Regions from separate parts of the Homo sapiens genome. Here all the other regions are linked to region 3. The links are contacts of gene promoters, found by promoter capture Hi-C in blood cells and fetal thymus (Javierre and others, 2016). All regions are on one chromosome and are shown on one strand. Each heading gives the region's core, a stretch centred on a gene start or on the middle of the fragment in contact. The rest is flanking DNA. Distances are from core to core; before and after follow the strand shown. Region 1 has its middle 22 kb from the start of PNKY. Region 2 has its middle 2.6 kb from the start of FBXL4. Region 3 holds the start of PRDM13 (PR/SET domain 13). Region 4 overlaps SIM1 (SIM bHLH transcription factor 1). Region 5 overlaps LOC124901364 (a long non-coding RNA gene). Region 6 has its middle 5.4 kb from the start of SIM1. Region 7 overlaps SIM1 (SIM bHLH transcription factor 1).

Region 1 (3,410 bases), core at 119-2,618, 800 kb before region 3:
ATAACCATTGTATTTCAAAATTCTTGTTAGTAAATTTCAGACTCTTTCCTTAAGATATTTTCTACATAGCAAACGTGGAAGGGTCATAAAGGATGTTCATTGATGTAAAATTAAGCTTAAAGATACTTTGGCCTCAATTATCTAGATATTTTGAGCAAATGCCAGATGGTTTCCTCATTTTTCACTTCCTTTGCAAGAAACAAACAGCCTATGTCTTCTCTCAGGAAAAACTTTGCTCCCATTATATCACTGACAAATTTCAAAAGTATAAAATGACTTAGAGATGAATCATCTCTAAGAGACCGGAGATTTGAATAGTTTCCCTTAAAGATGGACATCTTAGTGGTTTCCAAAAAAATATATGTATATTCTGGCACTTTGAAACCCAGGCTAGCAGTTTGTGACCCTTCTCAAGCAGAACTTTTGTGTCTGTACTAGTCTAGCCCTGCGACACTTCTGTAAGTTCCTCAGCATTGTGTATGCCCCGCATTGTCATCTAGCATAGCCCTAAGATTTTGCTCCTACCTTCCAACTTCTTTGAAATGCTCAGGCTCCCATGGGCAGGCTGGCCCTGACTCACTTTGGCTGCACTTCCTCAGCCCATTCTCATAGCAGGGTTTCTATGATAATAGCAGAAAATAAGGAAGAAAAAAGAGCATCCAAGGCACACGCTCTGGTTGGGTTTACCTGTCACTAAGATCATTCTCTGAAATATGAAAAATTTAATCAGTGTATATTTATTTAGCTAACATATCACATAAAACATTTAATTTGACTATATTTTAATTATGACATTTGCTAATTTGACTAAACTAAAAAAATCAAATGGCTAGGATCAAATGACAAATGATCCTAATAGCCACTTACTTTCAGGAATAAAAAAACTAAAAAAAAAAAAAAAAAATTTATGAAAATGACAACTCCAGGCTGATATCCTCCAAGTTTTAAGGGATTCATAAGAGATAATTCCCTACATTTTATCATAGATTTTTTAATAATTTGTATTGTTTAATGTTATATTACGATATCGATTATCTTGATTACTGAATTTCTTGGTTCCCCTGTTAAATTTTGTACCCAAGGCAAGTGCCTCACTCTCTTTTTCTTGAATCTGAATTTGGTTTCCAGGGCACCATTTCTCCTTTCTTCTCCAATCTCACTGTTTACTCCTTCTCAGTCTCCTTTGCTAGTTCCTCACCTCCTCCAGCCTCTAAATATTCAGATCTCAGCTCTAGGGCATCTTCTCCATCTATACTCATCCTCTAGATGATCTCATCCAGGCCATGGTTTTAAATATCACACATGCCCTGACGACTCTCTAGTTTTTATCTCCAGCTCAAACCACTCCCCTGAACTGCCTGCTTGGCATAGCCATTTTAAAATTTAACATGACCAAAATGCACTCCTGATTTTAGCCCTTAAACTTTCTTCCCCTACAGTTTCCACATCTCAATAAGGAGCAATTCCATCCTTGCAGTTGCTCAGGCTAAAAACTTTGGAGTTATACCTATATACCTGCTAACTCTTATTTTACATATGATCCATCAGCAATTCCCATTGACTCTCACTTCAAAATACATGCAGAATTCGACCACTTGTCACCACCATTCTAGCCCAAGTCACCATCACTTCTTGCTCAGACTATTATAGTAATCTGCAACTGATTTATTCGCTTCTTTCTTTTGTTTCTCTATAGTTTATTTTTAACAAAGCAGCCAGAGTGATCATTTTTAAATGAAAATCTGATTATGGGTTTTTTGCTCAAAACCCTCCAATATAACCCCATTCCACACAGAATAAAATCCAAAATCTTTACAATAGCCTACAACACTCGTTCTCAAACTTTCTAGAGGCTTATTAAAACAGATTTCTAGACTCCACCCAGATGCTCTGATTAAAGAAAGCCTGGATGGGGCCCAACATTTGCATTTCTAACAAGTTTCCAGGTTGTGTTGATGCTGTGGGTCTGGGGACCACACTCTGAGAACCACTGGCCTACAATGCCCTGTATGATCTGGCTCCTGTTACTTCTTTGAGCTCATCCTCTGTTACTTCTCTTCTTCCTCTCTGCTCCAATCACACTGTCCTTCTTAGCCTCCAAGCAACCTTCTACTTCAGGATCTTCATATTTTTCCCTTTATCTGGAGCATTCTACCCTTAGATATTCTCATGACCACTCCCTTCTTCAGGTCTCCAATTAAATACTCTTTTAATAAGACCTTCCCTGAGCACATCATATAAAATACCAAACTCACTACACCTCTACTTTACATTGCTTTATTTTTCTTCATAGAACTTATAACCATCTGTTCTTTATACATTTATTTGGTTGTTTGTTTATTGTCCGTTCCCACTGACTTTAAATTCCATGCGGACAAAGACTTTCCATACTTAATTCAGGGTTAACTATAGAGCTTAAAATGATGCCTGGCACATAGGTGCTCAATAAGTATTTGTGAAGGAAAGAATGGATGGATGGATGAATGGATGGCTGATGGGGAAAATTGGGCATGCACTCCAGACCACTCCCCTTTCTGTTTCCAGGCTCTTTGGGGAAAGGGAATAATCCAATTTATCATGCTAACCTAAGCAAGTTACTTATACACTGCACCCACAGCTTGTAAGCTTTAATTGTAAAAATCATCTTAATTTGTTTTTAAAAAGAAAAAACAAAATTGACAATAACTCAATGACCAGTACAAGGAGGCTTCCAGAGGCCCTTGCTGTTTTACCCACAGTCCTGACCTGATGTGCATAGAGGCCCACTTAGGGTGGCTAAAAATAAAGTCCATCTCCTCTGTTGCCACCTGCTTCCTATAGCTGTAAGTCCCATCTGTTCCCATAGAGAATCATCTCTGAGCTTGATTTTCGTGAACTATTTTTTTCTCTCTCACTCTCTCTCCATCACTTTCTTTATTCTTCACAGGGAGTCATTCGTTTTTGTCCAACAAGCAACCACCCTTCCTCCTTACCAGAAGTGGTCCCAATTTAACTCAACTGTCCATCTTCCCTATATGATTCAAGGTAAATCCTGATTAAGAATACAATTAGGATGATCCTGTTTTCTTTGCTACCAACTGGTTTAGGCATGAACATATCACTCAGTTCCAATCTATAGACATAGTCTGCTGGAGACTTCAGAAAAAGTTAATATCCAAATAAAGAGACATATGGGATGAATGACCCTTCTCCTACTATTGGACATTATAGTATCTGCATGCTATTCCTGGGACCCTAGCAGCCATTTTTGTAACCCTGAGGAAAACCAGCCAAGGACAAAACAAGAGATAGCGGAGAAAAACACAATGGGATGAACCTGAGTTCTGAATGAGTCCATGAGCCAACAAATTAACAATGCTGGAGCTACCTTATCTCAGAATTTCTTGGTATATAGGATAACAGGACATTTT
Region 2 (3,529 bases), core at 934-3,433, 660 kb before region 3:
TAGTAGAGACGGGGTTTCACCATATTGGCTAGGATGGTCTTGATCTCCTGACCTTGTGATCCACCTGCCTCAGCCTCCTAAAGTGCTGGGATTACAGCCGTGAGCCACCGCGCCCGCCCTTGGCACTTTTTTTAGTTTGCATCATATTTATCTTGTTACAAAATATCCACTAAGATGGAAAATATTTAATAAAATGTTGAACTACACATTATTTGCTGTCTGAATGCTCCAATGAGGCAAACCAGTAAGGATATTTACTTATATATGAACAGAATCAATATATGATATGCAATATACATTGTATACAAAAAAATTAAAATTTTTATTTTCTTCAACTTTTTGATGCATAATAGCTGTACATATTTTCAGGGTATATGTGATAATTTGATTCATTTCTGTAATCAAATCAGCATAACTGGGTTACTCATCCCCTTAAATATTTATCTTTTCTTTGTGCTAGGAACATTCAAATTGTTCTCTTCTGGCTATTTTGACATGTACTATTGATAAATGTTAGCTGTAGTCACCCTACTGATCTATGGAACACCGGGTCTTATTTCTTCTAAGTGTATGTTTCTTCTAAGTGTATGTTTACCTCCCCTTGCTCCCCCATGGCCCACCCCCCCAATACTTCTCAGTCTCTGAGATCCACTTTCTGAACTCCCACATATGAGTGAGAACATGCATTATTTGCCTTTCTGTGCTTGGCTTATTTCACTCATCATAATGACCTCCAGTTCTATCCATGTTTGTTGCAAATAAAAGGATTTTGTGGAGGGTTTTATGGCTGAATAATATTCTATTGTGTATATGTACCCCATTTTCTTTATCCATTCATCTGTTGCGCGGACACTTAGGTCAATTCTAAATCTTGGCTATTGTAAATAGTGCTGCAATAAACATAGAAGTGCAGATATCTCTTTGATATATGTATTTCCTTTCTGTTGGATCTATACCCAATAGTAGAATTGCTGAATCATATAGTAGTTCTATTTTTAGTTTTTTGAAGAATCTTCAAACAGTTTTTCACAGTGGCTCTAGTAATATTCATTCCTGCCAACAGTGCACACGGGTTCCCCTTTCTCCACATTCTCACCAGTATCTTTTGTTCCTGGCTTTTTTTTTTTTTTTTTTTTTTTGATAAAAGCCATTCTCACTGGGGTGAGATATCTCATTGTTTTGATTTGCATTTATCTGATGATTAGTGATAAGGAGCATTTTTTCATATACCAGTTGGCCATTTGTATGTCTTCTTTTGAGAAATGCCTGTTCAGATCTTCTGCCCATTTTTTAATTGGATTATTTGTTTTTGTTTTTGTTTTTGTTTTTGCTTTCCTATTGAGTTGTTTGAGCTCCTTATATAAAATATTCTGGTTATTAATCCCTTGTTAAATAAATAGTTTGCAAATATTTTCTCCCATTCTGTGGGTTGTCTCTTCACTTGATTGTTTCCTTTGCTATGCAGAAGCTTTTAAGCTTGATGTTATCCCATTTGTCTATTTTCACTTTTGTTGCCTATGTGTTTCAGATCTTAACCAAAAAGATAAGATCTTGCCCAGACTTATGTCATGGAGACTTTTCCCTATGCTTTCTTCTAGAAGTTTCATAGTTTTGGGTCTTAAATTTAAGCCTTTAATCCATTTTGACTTGACTTTTCTATATGGTGAGAGATAAGGTTCTAATTTCATTTTTCTGCGTGTGGACATTAGTTTTTGCCAACACTGTTGAACAGACTGTCCTTTCTCCATTGTGTGTTCTTGGCACCTTTTGTAAAAAAAGCAATTGACCATAGATGTGTGGCTTTATTTCTGGCCTCTATATTCTGTTCCATTAGTTAATGTGTCTGTTTTTATGCCACTACCATGCTGTTTCGATTGCTATAGCTTTGTAATATATTTTGAAGTGACGTATTGTGATGACTTCAGCTTTATTCTTTTTGCTCAACATTGTTTTCTCTATCCAGGATTTTCTGTGGTTCCATACAAATTTTAGGATTTTTTTTTCTATTTCTGGGAAGAACATCATTGATATATTGTTAGAGACTGCATTGAATATGTAGATTGCTTTGGGTAGGTATGGACATTTTAACTATTCCTCCAATCCATAAACACAGAATATCTTTCCATTTTTTGCATCTTCTCTAATTTCTTTCATCAAGGTTTTATAGTTTGAGTGTACAGATCTTTCACCTCCTTGGTTAAATTTATTCCTAAGTATTTTATTTTATGGGTTGTTTTTGTAGTCATTGTAAGTGGAATTGTTTTCTTGATGTCTTTTTCAAATAGTGTGCTTTCTGTGTATAGAAATGCTACTGATTTTTGTATGTTGATTTTACATCCTGCAAACTTACTAAATTTATTATAACAGTTTTTTTTAGTAAAGTCTTTAGGTTTTTCTATATATATAAGGTCATATCATCTGCAAACAAGGACCGTTTAACTTCTATACAATTTAGATGCCTTATTTTTTTCTTACCTAACTGCTCTAGCTAGGATTGCCAGTACTATGTTGAATAGAAGTGAGAAAGCGGGCATCCTTGTCTTGTTCTGGTTCTTAGAGGAAAAGCATTCAACTTTTGTCTATTCAGTGTATTAGCTGTTGGGGACTTGTCATATATGGCCTTTATTGTACTGAAGTACATTCCTTTTATACCTAATTCATTGAGCTTTTATCAGAGAAAAATAACGAATTGTGTCAAATGTTTTTCTGTATCTATTGAAATGATCAATGTGGTTTTTGTCCTTCATTCTGTTAAAGTGATGTATCACATTTATTAATTTGCTTTATGTTGAATCATTCTTGCATGTCTGCTATGAATCCTTCTTGACCATCGTTAGTGATCTCTTTTGTTGAAGATTTTTGCATTTATATTCATCAGGGATACTGGCCTATAAGCTTTGTTTTTTTGTTGTGTCCTTGCCTGATTTTGCTATCAGGGTAATGCCTGCCCCATAGAATGACCTTGGCAGTATTTCCCCCTCTTCAGTTTTTTGGAAGAGTTTGAGAAGAATTGCAATTTGTTATTTAAATGTTTGGTAGAAGTAAAGCCATCATGTCCTGGGCTTTTCTTTAATAGGAGACCTTTTATACTAATTCAATCTGCCACTTGTTACTGATTTGTTCACATTTTCTATAGCTTCATGATTCAGTATTGGTAGGTTGTATGTGTCCAGAAATTTATCCATTTCTTCTGGGTTACCAAATTTGTTGGCATATCATTGTTCCTAATAGTTTCTTATGATCTTTATATTCCTCTGGTATCAGTTGTAATGTCTCCTTTTTTATCTCTGATTTTGTTTATTTGGGTCATTTCTCATTTTTTCTTAGTCTGGCTAATGGTTTGTCGATTTTACTTATCTTTTCAAAAAATCTAATATGATATTTTGAATGAAATCCTGGAACAGAAAAAGGACGTTAGTAGAAAAACTAGTGAAATTAGAATGAAGAGTAGAATTTATTTAATAATAACACACCAGTGCTGATTTCTTAGTTGTAATAAACATACTATTGTAACATGAGCTCTTAACAA
Region 3 (3,187 bases), core at 1-2,500:
ACCACTCAGGCCTCTCTTGGAAGAACTGCATCGGGCTCCGGTGCTGGCTGCATAGGATTTGGGGAGCTGTGCTCAGAACTAGCAGCACGCGGCAGGTGCCGGCAGAAATCACAAATATCTGATGAACTTGATTACTTGGCTACTATTTATGAAAATAAATGTTCTCACGCCAATTGGAGGCTTCCCTAAAAGAAAACGGGTAGCTCTCCGGTTTAACTCTGAAGTACAACGTCTTGTTAGTTCACAAAGTAGGTGTAAGAAAGAGTTGTCCCAAACGCCCACCTCGCCCCTCTTCTCTACAACCTTTAACAGATTGCGGTGATTTTCGTTTTTGTTTACTGTTTTTTTTTTAATAGAAAAGTCCAGGTTGCTGGTTTTAGGGAAGTTAGTCCAAGGACATCTTCTAGGGGACGTGATCAATAACCCACTGGTAGAACTTCTTCCTCTTCAACCCTGGGCTGCGGACCGGGGCGCAGGATCCCCATTCGAAACTGTTGGTTCTGGGGCTGTTTCCCATTCTCCAGAGAAAGTGCAGGCCCGGGGTGTGCCCGAGAAAAGTGATGAGCAGTTGACCTCCCCTTCTCAACTTGGTCTGGAGGCTTCATCATATTTTCGGACGAAATGGGACAGAAGTGAGAATTAAAGCGGTTCTGAATAGACGACTGGCCTGAACCCAATCCCCTGAAATGGTAATATGGTTGTTATTTAAAAAGTGTAGGTATTTTCTGGTGTTTTCCCATCAAGTACCTGCCTAATTTCTGTATGGCACACGCCAGAAATCAATAGTAGTTAACAAGTCCTCCAAACAGTCTCCATCTCTTTGTTTAATCTCCTTTACAATAAAGCCAAGGGGAGAGAATTAAAAATCTTTGAAGTAGATCAAGGCTCAAAGGAATCAGCCAAGTAGACTTAAAGTAGTCACTTATTTCCCAAAACTGGTTTGTCGGGGAACAATAAAAGGAAGTAAAATTTATGGAGAAATTATACAGTGGATTTGTCACTTAAAATATCGTAACTGTCTGGAGGACAATACCCCATGCTGAGGATTAATGGTCCCGCCGGACCTTTGATTCACCAGTGCCTTTTCTTCGCCCTTGACAAATTGGATTTTTAGGAATGGGAAGGTCGCCTGGACCATTGTGTGCTAGCCATTCAGCGGCCTCGATTATGCAGGGGGCTGAGGGAACCACTCCATGTGACCCTCTCGGGTGGGACTCTGCAGCTGCTTCGCAGCGCAACTCTCTCACCAAACTCCGCGCCCTTGCGCTAGCGGTGCCAAAAGGCTCCCGCCCCGATTGAAAAGGCGCAGTGCATGCCCGCCCGCGTCACTCCGCGGGCGGAGGACGCACGTCGGGGCGCGGCTCTCTGGCTAGCGCGCAGCTCCAGCTCTGTCACTCGCGCCCTTCCAAGGACCTGGAGCACCCGAGCGCCTGCCTGGTGGCGGCGGCAACAATGCACGGAGCCGCCAGAGCGCCAGCCACCAGCGTGAGTGCCGACTGCTGCATCCCGGCCGGCTTGCGCCTCGGACCGGTGCCTGGTACCTTCAAGCTGGGCAAGTACCTGTCAGACCGCAGGGAGCCCGGGCCTAAGAAAAAGGTATTGACCATTCAGACCTCTGCCCACTGCCATTCGCCTCTCAGTGCCCTGACCCGGGAAAGGGGTACGAGAGAAAGTGGAGGAAGGGAGTGATTGAGTCGTTACCTGCTAATTCTGCCGGGTGGAAGGGGACTCCTATTATTCTGAGCAAGTAGCCTCTTTAACTGTGAGAGCTGGACGGGGTCGGGCTGAGAGGAGAGGATGTGGCCGAGAGGCGACAGCCCTGGGTGGGGTGCACTGAGCGCTGTAGGTGCCGGGACCATTCGCAGCTTGTGTTTTCCCCTGCGCTCTCGGGTCTCCTCAGTCAGAAGCCAGAAGCCCACCCCCGCACGCTGTCCGCAGCTCTCTCTGCAAAAGCACCCTCTTTCTGGGGGCTCAGGGCATCGAGACCCTTTCTTCCCTTCTGCCCTTCAATATGTTAATTTGAGGCCTAATTTCGCCTTAAAGTAATTTTTTTTCCTGAAAAAAAAAATCTTTGGGAGGCTCTCAGTTCCTAGAACCTCCTCAGATATTTTTTTTTCCCTTGCCGATGTCGGCTTGTGGGTATGCGGCATATGGAGAGAGGATGAGCAAGGTACTGGCTCTGACGCGGGCTCCAAGGGCGAGGCGCGCCCATTCGCGCGGGGCACAGGGTCAGAGCGTCTGCAGCGGGGCTCTGAGAGTCCAGAGGCCCAACCGGGAGGCGCCAGGGCCAAACCACTAGCTTTGACTCCCACACTCCACACACCGTCGCGACCCCTGACCAGAGAGACTTATAGCACTCGCCCGCTTTGGGGGCGTCCCAGGAGCCAAAGGTCGGCAAACAGCGACCGGGAAATGAAGGCAGAAGTCTGGGGTAGAAGAAAGGACTTTGGCTTCCTTGGCTTTAGCTTGCCTTGCTTGGAGCTTTCTAGTAAAAAGCTCCGGTGTCCAGCCAGCGGGACTTGCACCTCGCTCCTCCTGCAATCACGCCCCCCACTACAGTCTAAAGCGGGGTTTGGTGCCCACCGCGCATTCCTCTTTAAACGCGTTTTAATTGCTTTTAAATGGCCTGCCAGCTGCGGGCAAGCTTTTCCCCGCTTGGGCTTTGTTCCGAGACTTTAGCTGCAGGGCTCACAGGCAACTAGGTGCGATGCACACAGAATACAGGAGGCATGAGATAATTTTTTTGTTTGTTTGTCGGGGGTACGCTCTGGGCCCTGGGACTGACCTAGAAATGTCTCTACCGTGGTGTTACGGCTGCTCTCAGAACTGCAAATGGGAGAGCTGGGGTAGGGGACAACTTGGTACAAGATGTGCCTAAGCACTCAGGGAGGATGCTCTCAACACCCCTCTCCCCTCCCCGTGTCGTCAAGGTGGGGCGCAGGGAAGTGGGAGTACTGTTAGCATAGGTAGACTTTCCTCTTTCTCCCTCCCCGAAGCAAGGTCCTAAGGAATTCTCCTCCTCCCAGTAGCCCATAGTGGTCTGGCCAAACCAAAAACAACCACTTTCCTGTGTTGGGTTGGGGTGGAGGATAAACTTTCTGTTTGGGTTGTGGGCCTGGCCAAGGTGCGGGGGAGAACGACCACTGCTTGTGTTGCAGGTGCGCATGGTGAGAGGGGAGCTGGTGGA
Region 4 (3,299 bases), core at 248-2,747, 850 kb after region 3:
CAGGCTCTCCATGAAGGAAAGTCTTAAGACTTTCACTGTCTCTATCTCTGTGAATAAGGCCTCAGTCCAGGCAGAGACAAGAGGAGTCAGACCCTGCTTTCAAGGAGCAGGAAGTCCAACAGGAGCAACTGGCCTGAAGACAGATATAGTGACCACATAGCTGAACAGGTAGTGCTGAATAGGCAGGGGGCCCAGAGCCTGAGTGACCGGAGGCCTGGGGGACAATCAGGCCTTAGGGGAGCTGATGTTTGAGCAGAACCTTGAACAGGAAGCTTGGACTGGAGAAGAGAGAAAGAGCATTCTAGGCAGAAGGAATGAAGTGGCCAAGTCTGCTGGGTCTGGGGATAGGACCAATCTAGTGTATTCTGAGGTGATGAATTTGGTGTACTAGAGACTGCAGAGGAGCTAAACCTGCAATAGATTTTGGAGCTTGAAATGTCAATTTGAGAAACCTGGAGTTGCTCTGTAAGCACTAGAGTTCTAACAGGTTTCTAAGCAGGAGAATAGCATGCTTAGATGTGGCATTTGTTTAATTTTATTTTGTTTTGCAGAATGCAGACAGTGATCTGAGGAGGAAGGGGAGGGGAAGAGGAGATCAGAGAAGGCAGCTGCAGCAGAGATGGTCAAGCCTGAAATGGGGTAGTCACAAGGGGAATATAGAAAGGGGAGAATCTAATTCAAAGATGGTTCTGGATATGGACTTCACTGGTAGCAGAGAGAGGTTTACTTCAGTGTTTCAGTGAAGGCACTAAGCAGAAGGTGACATCATTAACCAAGATTTAGTGTGATTTTGTATGAGTAGAATTCTGGGGGAGGGAGATAATGCCTCCTTGTTTTGGAGATGCTAAACTTCAAGTGTATGCAGATTTCCATTTAGATGTGTCCAGTTTGCAGTAGGAAACAAAAATCTGGAGCTCAGACGGAGAGTCTAGACTAGAGAAACCAGTTGGTTTCATGTAGAGAAAGGAGTTGAGAGGCTGGTGTTGGGTGAGATTACCTGGGTGGCCTTGAAGCTGTAACAGGAGAAACAGAGCTGAAACCTAGGGGACATTACAGCATTTGCAGGCCAACCAGTGGTGGGGAAATCAAAAGGGAGCAGGCAGAGAGAGAGAAGAATCTGGGAAATAGTGCTATTTTAGAAACTGAGGGAAGGAGAGAATGTTAAATCATCAGTGTCACCTCCTTCAAGTCTTAGTCCAAATGTCACCTTCTCAGTGCGGCCCTCTCCAACCATCTCTTATTTTAAAAGGCACTACTCTTTCTTCCTCTCCTCCTTATTTTTCTCCATGGCACCTATACCACCTGGTAAACTATACACTGTACCAGTGTGGGCTTGTAAAGCTGCTCTCCTTAGAATGCAAACTCCATGAGAGCAGGGCTTTCCATCTGGCATGCGATTGCCCCTCCTAAATTTGCGGAATGAGTGAGCTTCATTAGGATAAGAGATGAGCATCTAATTCTTGCTATCAAAATGTGGTGAAGCCAGTGAAGAGCATGATGGGTGGGAGAGATGCCAGACTGCAGGGATGAGGGAGTAAATGGGGAGAGGGTGGGCCATTGAAATTGGGAATGTAAGTCAGTCCTACCAGAAATGTGGCATGAAGAAGAGGAAATAAATTGGCAAGAGCTGGAAAGTGTCAGGGACAGTTTGGATTTTGTTTTCTTGTTTATGTTTCTGAGGAAAATTAGTTGGGAATATGAAAATATTGGGGGAAGGACACAGGGAAATCTGATAGAAGATGTCTTAGAGTTAAGTGCCTTTCTAGATAAATTCAAAGGTGTGAAGGCCACGTCAGTGAGAGAATGCTTGCCCAACCCCTTCCTTTGTCCCACAAAACTAAAATCTTCTTGGTGTCTTGGAAGGAGAAAGGTATAGGGTAGTGGTAGGAAAAGGAGCTCCTGTCAAGAGATGCCACTCATGCCAGCCCACAGGGAGAACTTGCTTAGATTCCCCAAATGCTGCTTAGGTTCAAGGCTTCCAGGAGAGTAGCTCCCAGTGGGCTTGAATAATAATAATAATGATGATGTTGCAGGGTTGGGACAAGCGCAAAATCTAAAAATGCCACCGGGGTTTTGCAATTTAAAATATTTGTTCTGTGACTTAAGTAGGCAAAGAGCAAGTTAAAACTGTGAGCACTACAAACCACAAGGTAATGGGAGCCTAGCATTGGTTAAACTCATTATCTGGGGGTGTGTATGTGCTTAAGCAAGGTCCTGCACACAGCCTGGGCTGGCTTGCAGTGAAAGGCAATAGGAAGAGAAGAGGGAGCCTGGGCACTACAGGGACACAAAACCAGTTGCAGATGTAGCTGAATTGGAAAGACGTGGGCTTAAAGCACTGACAGGTCTTTTTACCAGATTCCTGTTATTTCCTTTGGAAATCCTTCATTTGGGATGGTTCTGTGGCCTTGCCTCTTCTGCCTGATCTGGGGTGTTCCAGTTCCCTCAGCCCAATGGAGACAAATGGTGCCCCCTCCCTTGGTTAGGGGCCTCGTTGGGCTACATTCCAAACCCAACTTCTCACTTGTCACCTTGCCTCCCTCTCAGCCTCTTGAGGCATCATCTGCAAAAGCTAAAATTTTACTTTGCAGCAGCTATTGGGCTCTGAGAGGGCCACGTGCAGTCCGGATCCCTGTTTTTGTGGGGGGGGTTGTTTGTTTTTTTTTTGTTTTTGTTTTCTGAGAAACTAAAAGCTCAACTCAGGGCCAGGCACTCAGACCCTCAAAGCTTATGTGTTGCCGGAAGACCTGCACCTGTACCTGGAGCAGATGGGAGCCCAGTTCTCGGCCAACGTTGTCCAGGGGGCTGGTCCGACTTGAGTGGCCCCACGCCTCGCCGAGCCCTGTGGAGACACAGAAGCATCCTGTAGCCACTGAACCCGGACCTGACAGGCAGTTTGGGACCAAGTCCCGCGACTGTATTACCCGAGTGCCGGCCCCTTTGACTGGATACCATAGGGGATCCCTCTCAAAGTGGACAGCGGGGGATGGGAGCGTGTACATTTCAGTCCGTCCTGTCAGCTTCTCAGCAGAGGTTAGATTTCCTCTTCTAAACTAAAACTGGTTTCTCAGGCCAAGGGCCCCCTGGTAGGACTCCAAGTGGCCCAGGCTCGGAAAAAGCCTCCAACATTGCACCCCACCGATAACTTTCATGTAGGTTCACCAGTGTGTTTACGGGGCGTAAGGGCACTCTGCTTCTCGCCCAAAGTTTTCATCGTCATCCGTTTCCCGAGGCCGAGCTTGTCCTAACACCAAGCGAAAGCCACTGCCAGCCCGCAGCGACCTGAGACGACCGGCCAG
Region 5 (3,067 bases), core at 247-2,746, 760 kb before region 3:
CAACTTAATTTCAATTCAGGAAATTTCATTAAGAATACATGCTAATAAATGGTACCTCTGTAACTGCAAGAATGTGAAGGAAGAAAAAACGTACGTGAATCTGAGGTCTCACATTTTTCATTTGTAGTAGGTGCTATCCATGGTGTGGAGAAATTTTTATAGAAGAACAGCACCCAGGCTAGAGAATGAGACCTGCTTGAGACATATCACTTCTTTTTCATGTATCTTCTGCCACATATTTTCATCCAAATGTTTATTTGTTTCTAAGACAGCTAAAGAAAGGAGTCTATTTTAAAGAAATTTAGACATACATTAAACTTTCCTTGTTTAACACATTCAGTCAACTAAAACTATGAGAGGTCATGTTTGGGGAGAAGACATTTGTTTATACTTAATATCACTTCCTAAAACACAAAAACCCCTTTCTAAGGTTTCCTAGACTTTAAAAGATAGGAGTGGTATACTGTATTGATTTCAGTTAGGAAAAAGGAAGGCAATTTGAATAGGGGCCAGTGGAATACAAATATGTCAATATTCTCTTGAATATAGTGTAAAGTAACTGAGATTACCTGGTTTTAAATAAAGAGCATATGAAAAATGGAAAACTTTTCCTCTTAGATCAAAAACAAGACTAAAGTGCCCACTCTCACCACTTTCATTCAATATAGTATTGTAAGTTTTAGCCAGAGCATTTAAGCAAGAAAAAGAAGTAAAAGGATTCAAATTGGAAAGGAAGAAATAAAATTGTCTCTGTTTGCATGTGGCATGATCTTACATATAGAAAACCCCAAAGACTACATCAAAAAACTTTTAGAACTAATACATGAATTCAATAAAGTTATAGAATATAAACCAACATACAAAAAATCAGTAGCATTTCTATACACTAACAAAAAATAATCTGAGAAAGAAATGAAGAAATCAATCCCATTTATAATAGCAACCAAAAAATAAAATATTTAGGAATAAACTTAATCAAGGAGGTGAAAGATGTACAGTGAAAACTATAAAACATTGATGAAAGAAATTGAAGACACAAATAAATTGAAATATATCCTGTGTTCATGGATTGGAAGAATTGATATTTGTTAAAATGTCCATATGACCCCAAATGATTGACAGATTCAATGCAATCCCTATCAAAATTCCAATGATATTTTTCAAAGAAATAGAAAAAAAAATTCTAAAATTCGTATGGAACCACAAAAGAGCCTGAATAGCTAAAGTAATCTTGAGCAGAAACAACAAAGCTAGAGGCATCACACTACCTGATTTCAAAGTATGTTGCTAAGCTTAAGTAATCAAAACAGTATAGTACTGGCATAAAAACAGACACATAGACCAATAGAACAGAATGGAGAGCCTATATGTAAATCCATGCATTTACAGTCAATTGATCTTTCACAAAGGTGCCAAGAACACACAATGGGGAAAGGATAGTCTCTTCAATAAATTATGTTGGGACAACTGTATATCCACCCATAGAAAAATGAAATTGGACCTGTATCTCACGATATATACAAACATCAACTCAAAATGGATTAAAGAATTAAATGTAAGACCTGAAACTGTAAAACTACTAGAAGAACAAATAGTGTGAAAGTTCCTTGACATTGGTCTGGAGAATGATTTTTTTGGATTTGACCATAACACTCAGGCAGGAAAGCAAAAACAGGCAAATGGGATTGCATCAAACTTAAAAAGCTTTCCACAGCAAAGGAAACAATCAACAGAGTCAACAGAAAATATCGGCAAACCATACCTCTGATAAAGGGTTAATATCCAAATTATATACGAAACTCAATTCAGTAGCAAGAAAACAGCCTATTTTTTTAATGGTCAGAGGACCTGAATAGACATTTCTCAAAAGAAGACATATAAATGGTCAACATGTGTATGAAAAAAAGCTCAACATCATTAATCATCAGAGAAAATGCAAATTAAAGCCACAAGGAGATACCACCTCACACCTGTTAGAATGGTTACTATAAAAAAGAGAAAAAATAAGTTTTGGAGAGGATGTGAAGAAACGAGAACCCTTGTCCATTATTGGTGGGAAATTAAATTAGTACAGCTATTATGGGAAACAGTATGGAGTCTCTTCAAAAAACTAAAGAAATAGAACTACCCTATGATCCAGCAATTCCACTTCTAGATATATATTCAAAGGAAATAAAATCAGTATGTCAAAGAGATAATTGCACTCCCATGTTCATTGTTGCATTATTTACAACAGCCAAGATATGGAATCAATCTAAGTGTCCATCAATGGATCAATGGATAAAGGAATAACACACACACACACACACACACACACACACACACACGAATACTACAAAGCCTTAAAAAAGAAGAAAATCCTGTCATTTGTGACAACATGGGTGAATGTAGAGAACATTATGTTAAATGACATAAGCAAAGCACCAAAAGACAGTACTACATGATCTCACATACATGGGGAATCTAAAAAAGTTGAACACATAGAACAGAGAGTAAAATGGTAATTGCTAGGGGCTGGAGGTAGGGGTGGGGAAATGTTGGTTAAAGGGTAGAGTTTCAGTTAGAAAGGGTGACTAAGTTACAGAGATCTATTGTTTATCATGATGAATACAGTTAATAACAATGTATTGTATTCTTGAAAATTTCTAATAGATTAGATCTTAAATATACTCACCTCAATAAACAACTATATGAAGTGATGGAATATATATATTTATATTTTATTTTATTTTTATTTATTTTTGAGATGGAGTCTCACTCTGTCGCCCAGGCTGGAGTGCAGTGGCGCGATCTCAGCTCACTACAAGCTCGGCCTCCTGGGTTCACGCCATTCTCCTGCCTCAGCCTCCTGAGTAGCTGGGACTACAGGCGCCCACTACCACGCCTGGCTAATTTTTTTTTGTATTTTTAGTAGATAGGGGTTTCACCGTGTTAGCAAAGATGGTCTCAATCTCCTGACCTCGTGATACGCCCACCTTGGCCTCCCGATGGATGATATATTAGCTTGATGTAATCATATCATAAAATATACATATATCAAAATGTTATATACCATAAATGTACACAG
Region 6 (3,131 bases), core at 112-2,611, 860 kb after region 3:
AAAAAGAAAATGCACCAAGTTGGAAAATGAGATTGGCGAATACAAGTAAGGGTTTCATATAGTTTCTCTAAATATTCTGGTTAATTTTCCAGATATTGGAAACCGTGGTCTAATATATAACCTTGAACGGCCGCTGGGAAATAAGTGCTTCTTGAATTGTGCACCACTGTATTTGCAGACATAAATTTTAAGCTTTAAAGAATATAATTATTTTAAAATATAATTGCTAGCTGGAAAGAGGTCTGATTCTGTGCATTCTGAGGATGGGAGCAGGTGGGTGCCTGCCGCTCCAGGTGCCTGCGCTTTCACACTTTTCTTTTCCAGAAATCGAGCGGAGGACGCTGTGTGTGCATAAATTTCAGCAACGCTGAATACAGGCACTCAACTGAGGCGTTCTAACTCTGGAGATGAACACTGGATTGGAAACTCGGGTTGAAAAACACTTTGATTCTTAAATCGGTTCCCGAATTTCAGACCAAACTCGGGGTCACTTGGCATGGAGGTGGGGGAGGAGGGCGGCTTTTAAATATAAACCCTAAGGCCCCACCTTGATTTAGGAATAGGAAATCCCTGTCCGAATCGGGAATTGGCATTCCGTAAGGGAGCGGAGGGCCTCAGGCCACTAGGCAGCTCCGAACGCGGGGAAGCGGGAGCAAAGATGAGCTCAGAGCGAGGGTTGCCGGCGCCACCCTGGGCTGCGCAGTGAGGGGCCGTGGACCCGCCCCGAGACTCAGTGACAGTCGCAGCTTAACCCCGTTGGGGGCGCCGCCCCGCTGAGGTGGTTGCGTCTCCAAGTCGTGAGCCTCCAATAGCTGCTCCCGCTTTCGCGTCGCAACCCCAGGACCCCGGGAAATTACCACTGTGCTCGTCTGGGCCGGAGACCCGGTGCTTCGGAAGCCTGGGGCACATGCCTGGGTCCCACCCTAGACTCACCGCCTCTGGGCCCGAGACATGGGAATCTGCCCTTGAATATCTGGGCGCCTTTGCTGTTAGCGCGGTTTTGGAACTTGAGCGTGCATGGGAATTGATTGGAAGGCTGCTTAAAACACAGATTGCTGGGCCTCACTTCCAGAGTTTATGATTCAGTAGATCTGGGGTGGAACCCAATAGTTTATTTGCATTTCTAACAGGTTCCCAGGTGATGTTGCTGGTGAGGGAACCGCACTTTAAGAACCATTGCCTTAGTCTGCTTTTTCTCAGCCTGCTTCTGAAGTAGAAGACTGTGAGGAGGGAAAATATTCGAAGCGATGTCCCTAGTATTGTGGGATCTTGAACATACAGCATAAAATGATAGGGCGGTCTAGTTGAGGCCCAGGAGTGAGGCTGTCCTCTGTGATAAGGATGGGGTCTCTGAAGATGGCTTATTCCTGCCTCCTTAGGAAAGTGGTTAGTGTCAAAAAAGGGAGAGGAAGCCGGGGCAAACTTCCGTGGGGAGTTTGGCTTCAGAAGAGCAGGGAAATACACAGGGTGCTCTCACAATGTTTCAGTGTTCCAGGGTTCTCAGCTATGTTGCTGGAAATAAGTCCAGAGACTTTGGTTCAGTCAACCAGGGGTGGGACACACTGGAAATATAGCAGACAAGCATTGGTTCTCCTTTTGGCCTCAAACCTGTTCCCTCATTTTTCAAGACCACTTAGGCATAAAGGGTTCAAGGTGTGTGTGTGTGTGATGTTGGTGCAGGGGGAGTGGTCGCTAGAGGAGGGGGCCCTGCCTGGATGCATTGGGCCAGGGTGGTCTAGGCCTCCCCTCAAGTGGCAAGGGCTTCCTCTTGTGCAGGGTCAACGTTATGACACAGCTTTGTTGATCCTTAAGCACTTTTGTAATGTTTTTATGGCTCCATCCTGCATAAGAAAATATTTTAAAATTATATTTTGCAACTGCATTGGTAAACAGATGAGTGTAATTCAGATTGGTTTCATTATCATATATTCATTATTCTTACATTTTTTTTTCTTCTGATGGTAAAAGAAATAAACAGTGAAACATTTTTCTCAGGCCGTAAAACTACATGGGCCCTAGGCACTGTGACTATTGTGTGAAATGGATAAGTCAGTGCTGCTCCTAGGTACACCTGGGATGATATGGATGCTGGGCATGCCTTTTCCCAGCAGTGGTTCCTAAGCCCCTTTCAGATGAGAGAGGTTTGGGATGACAATCTCTATCCATGAGTCACAGCTCCATTTCTGGAATGAAGCTGTTCATCTCCTCAGGGCTCCCACTGCAGAGTCCCTCCACCCTAAAACCGAGTGGAAAATCCAGACCGATTAGACTACCAGCACCATTTCTTATCTTAACACCTGGCCTGCTTCACTTATTTTCCTTACCTAGAAATCCAGATTATTAAGTGAAATCCAATTTTAAAACACTATGCAAACCAAGCAAGTGGATCTTGGGCTACCAATTTATGTCTCCAGCTATACAACTACGTAGCTTCTTATTACTCTTCTGGAGTTTCAAGCAAACATTAAGATTTATATTACACACACCGTTCTGCACCTTGATTTTTTTTCACTTTTCATGACAGTATACAGAAAGCTTCTTCATCCTTTCTTTCCTAAACATCTGTATAGCATTCCAGAAAATACCAGTATAAATTATTTAACCTTTCACCCACTGAGGACATTTAGGTTTGTTTCCCATTATTGCTTCACAAACAATGCTGCAGTGGATAACTGTACACATGTCATTTACCTGTGTACAAGTACACCCACGGGACAAATTCCCAACAATGGAGTTGCTATATTGAAGGATACATGGATTTGCACTCCTGATAAACATTGCTAAATTGCCCTCCATGACAGTTTTGCCAATTGACACTCTCATCAGCAATGTGTGAGGGTGACTGTTTCCCTACAATCTTCGAATGAAGCACATTATTAACTTTTTTCCCAGTCTACTAGATGAAAATTGATTTTTAATTTTTTTCTGTTATTAGGGAGGTTTGGCATATTTTCATATGCCTAAGTGCTGCTTGCATTTTTCTACTGGAAACTGTCAACCCAAATGATTTGAGGGTGGGGGCCCTCTTGGCTCTGAGGTGGGTAAATCCTTGGGTAGGAGGTTGAGGTGGGGTCTGGTTTTAAATACAGTTGAACCATTCTTGAATCCCTGGGGTGAGCTCACTGGTCAAC
Region 7 (3,199 bases), core at 497-2,996, 830 kb after region 3:
ATGGCTGGCTCCCTTCCTTCATTTATGAATCTTTAGAGAAACCTTTCTGACCATCCCTACCTCTTTGTCCTGCTTAATTTTTCTCCTATCACTTTCTGATATTATATGACTTTTTTATTTCTTTATAAGTACTTTATAAGTATATTAAAATTTATACTCAAATTAGCCAGGTGTGGTGGCACATGCATGCCATCCCAGCTACTCCGGAGGCTGAGGCTGTGGGAGGATCTTTTGAGCCTGGGAGGTCGAGGTGCGGTGAACCATGATCTTGCCACTGCACTGCAGCCTGGGCAACAGATTAAGACCCACCCCCCCACCCACACACACACACACACACACACACATATAATGTATATTTTTTACATATACATATATATTTAAAAACTTACATTTCATGAGGGTAGGGACTTTGTCTCTTTCAGCCACACTGTAGCCCTACCAGGGCCTGGCACACAGTAGGCACTAGGGAAATATTTGCTGAGTGAATGCATGAACCATCCCCAGCTTGTCATAGAGATGACTACACTCTAAAACATTTCTTACCGTTACCTTAATTACAACAACAGAGATTAAGCTGATTCTAATGATAGAAATTTGTTTGTAATGAAGGTCCTATTGAGTCAACCAAGAAGAGACACAAATAGAAAAGAGATTATTCTGTAAAGTGCCATGTAACGTCTGTAAATATTTTCTTCCTGGTTTTCAATTAGCCTTCACAATAAAATGCTATCCTGCACGTTGCTATTTCTTTAACTGCTCTAATTGGAGGAATGAAATTGACACCCACTCTGCCCTCCCCTTTGTGGGCTTCATTCTTCTAGCATTCCTGAGCTGTAACCCTGCAAGGGTCCATTACCCAAATCCAACACAACAAATACTTCACTACGCCAGGACTGTGGTAAGATTTCAACAGTGAATATAAATGCTGTGCCTTCCAACACTATTAGTCTCTTAACGGCCTATCAAAATTAAAATGAAAAACTCTGTGTTGCATTTGGCTTGATCTGATAACAAGCAGCTCTTTGCCTGTCGCTTGTTTGGACACCAATATCAATTAATGGGAGGTACTGAAACAAGTGAAGCTCCTGGTTCAGTCACAAGAACACGTTATAGTCATTACAAGCACGAGAGTAAAATGAATGGCTGAAGAGCAGCCGCAAACCTGTAAGAATGCTCAGAACCAGGGATTCTACCTTTGTTAACGGTTTTCAGTAGGAAGAGGTGAGAGACAGCACATTCTAAGATCGCATTTTACCAGAGAATGTTGCTATTCTTGGAGAGATGTAAAAAGTGGCAAGGGACTTGGGTTTAAAAGCACAAACACAGAGAGAATCCCACCTTAATGGGTACCATTATGATATCCAGTTCAATATAATGAGGCTATTTCTACAATCTACCCATCAGCCCATATTAGCACGCTTTACTGATGCGGATACAACAAATTCTGTTTGAACAAGAAATCCCTGGAGCGGGGGTGGGGGAAGGATCCATTCACAGGCCCTATCCATTTAGCAATCAATCAAAGAAAAAATATTCTTCTAGTAAAGACAGCAGCTCCCATTTGAATCCTCGTAAAATATTAAATGTTCTAAATAAAATAATTTTCTGTGGGTGACACGTTGATTGTTGTTTTGTGAAAACATCATGACTGTTGATGCTAAAATTAGTGAAGAAGAGATGGGCTCAGGATATCGACTGGCAATTGAGCAGGTCCCAAGTATACCCAAACTCTGAAGAAACTGAGTCACTTTGTGGAGACCCCATATTAAAAAAGAGAGTAAACTGTCCATAGACCATGCAAAATATTGGCAAAATGTCATAAATGACTATGTAAGTATTAGGTGGAATCATATGAAATTGCCAATATTGAACTGTTTTAATGTATAGAAGTGACAATTTCATATGGTTCACCCTAAAACAGCATTATCCACTTAAAGAAAGCATGCCAAAGAGGAAAGCAGGTGGATGCTGGAGTCCAGACCCTGGGTTGGTATGCTCGCTGGACCACTCACTAGCTATGTTGTATTGGCTGAGTCACTTAGCTTCTCTGGCCTCTCACACAAAGCAGCCGCCCTTCAGATGTGAGTCTGTCTTACTCCTCAGCCTTCCTAAGCATGCAATGAACAAAACAATGTGCCACGCCTCTTTCAGCTTAGAGCTAACAACCACCTCCCAGTCTCTCCCAGACAGAGGAACAATACCTGAGAATTACCTCTTATAAAAGAAAAAAGAAGCAAAAAAAATTATAAACATCCAAAATAATTGACAACATATTTCAAAATGTAATACATCTGCAAAGACTATTTTGAATCTAGAATTCTTTAATTTAAAAATTCACTGAGATTCATAATCCTATCAGAACTCAAACCCCAAAATTTTGAAAAATCCCATCTGCAGCAGGACAAAACATCATTCCAACAGGACAAAAATCAACACAACTGCTCCCTCTCCCTGAGGCAATGAGATAAACAGGGCCCACCCTGGGTAACGTCCTTGAGAGAGTTAAAGTTGAACTCCTTAATCTGTAGCCAGTTACCTTGCTGCCAGTCATGAACTCCCTTACCATACACATCACACACACACACACAGACACACACACACCCCTCCCAAGGTGCCCAACTCCTCCCACTGTCTCTCCTCCCTACCTACTATCTAGCCAGAAAGCAGTCTAACCACACCTGTGAGCTCATTTTTCAGGAGTGACCCAAACAGTGCCAAGGTGCTTTAGGCCCTCTTCCTTCTAATTGTGAGTGGACGTACTTTCCTCCATAAAGGCATCTCAGTTACCAGCAAGCCCACAGGGAAATCAGGCTAGGATACAGCTTGGACATATGCTTATTTCTTTTCCCTACAGACACTGTCTTACTCATTTTGATGTCCTCTGAACTGTGCACAGTGCTTGGCACATAATAGGTGTTCAATAAGCCTTTTATGAATGCTTAAAGGCCACTAGTCCTAACCAATTGAAGGAGGATCTTTCCAGATGCATCAAGATAATTGCTGATTTCTTGTTCTTGGGCCACCATCTGCTTCCTAAGACTCATGCTTTCCCTCCATTGGTCCAAAGACTCACACACATTTATTTTGTGTTCATTGGCAAGACAAAAATTATTTTATTCAATTTCACTAAAATAACCACTGTAATAATTCACATGTACTCAGTGTTACTTTGTGTTGGGCACAGGGCCACCAACCTTAC

What was found. The method cuts DNA at HindIII sites, captures the fragments that hold promoters and counts their contacts. A CHiCAGO score of 5 or more calls a contact.
Region 1: a fragment that was not itself captured here is called in contact with the fragment with the promoter of PRDM13 in region 3 in 1 of 17 cell types (total B cells); the score reaches 5.5 in total B cells.
Region 2: a contact is called between a fragment that was not itself captured here and the fragment with the promoter of PRDM13 in region 3, in 1 of 17 cell types (total B cells). The highest score is 5.2, in total B cells.
Region 4: a contact is called between a fragment that was not itself captured here and the fragment with the promoter of PRDM13 in region 3, in 3 of 17 cell types (total B cells, naive B cells and fetal thymus). The highest score is 13.5, in total B cells.
Region 5: a contact is called between a fragment that was not itself captured here and the fragment with the promoter of PRDM13 in region 3, in 1 of 17 cell types (naive B cells). The highest score is 5.5, in naive B cells.
Region 6: a contact is called between a fragment that was not itself captured here and the fragment with the promoter of PRDM13 in region 3, in 3 of 17 cell types (total B cells, naive B cells and fetal thymus). The highest score is 17.7, in total B cells.
Region 7: a fragment that was not itself captured here is called in contact with the fragment with the promoter of PRDM13 in region 3 in 1 of 17 cell types (total B cells); the score reaches 5.3 in total B cells.

Annotation. Positions count from the first base shown.
Region 1 is chr6:98,808,459-98,811,868 of GRCh38, forward strand. No RefSeq gene overlaps it. Among named protein-coding and RNA genes, the nearest start is that of PNKY, 22 kb to the right of the region's middle. The HindIII fragment of the contact is 2,510 bases long and covers 114-2,623 here.
Region 2 is chr6:98,948,743-98,952,271 of GRCh38, forward strand. No RefSeq gene overlaps it. Among named protein-coding and RNA genes, the nearest start is that of FBXL4, 2.6 kb to the left of the region's middle. The HindIII fragment of the contact is 1,419 bases long and covers 1,475-2,893 here.
Region 3 is chr6:99,605,583-99,608,769 of GRCh38, forward strand. It overlaps PRDM13 (PR/SET domain 13), which reads left to right and starts at 1,251. Exons shown (of 4, transcript NM_021620.4): 1 at 1,251-1,596; 2 at 3,159-3,187. The coding sequence starts at 1,453. The HindIII fragment of the contact is 6,161 bases long and covers 1-2,642 here.
Region 4 is chr6:100,451,003-100,454,301 of GRCh38, forward strand. It overlaps SIM1 (SIM bHLH transcription factor 1), which reads right to left. Exons shown (of 12, transcript NM_005068.3): 3 at 2,760-2,842. Among named protein-coding and RNA genes, the nearest start is that of SIM1, 12 kb to the right of the region's middle. The HindIII fragment of the contact is 2,455 bases long and covers 271-2,725 here.
Region 5 is chr6:98,849,661-98,852,727 of GRCh38, forward strand. It overlaps LOC124901364 (a long non-coding RNA gene), which reads left to right. Exons shown (of 2, transcript XR_007059690.1): 2 at 1-605. Among named protein-coding and RNA genes, the nearest start is that of POU3F2, 17 kb to the left of the region's middle. The HindIII fragment of the contact is 412 bases long and covers 1,291-1,702 here.
Region 6 is chr6:100,468,755-100,471,885 of GRCh38, forward strand. No RefSeq gene overlaps it. Among named protein-coding and RNA genes, the nearest start is that of SIM1, 5.4 kb to the left of the region's middle. The HindIII fragment of the contact is 2,343 bases long and covers 191-2,533 here.
Region 7 is chr6:100,433,423-100,436,621 of GRCh38, forward strand. The region is part of intron 9 of SIM1 (SIM bHLH transcription factor 1); the gene reads right to left. All of the region lies in intron 2 of SIM1-AS1 (SIM1 antisense RNA 1), which reads left to right. Among named protein-coding and RNA genes, the nearest start is that of SIM1, 30 kb to the right of the region's middle. The HindIII fragment of the contact is 5,285 bases long and covers 1-3,199 here.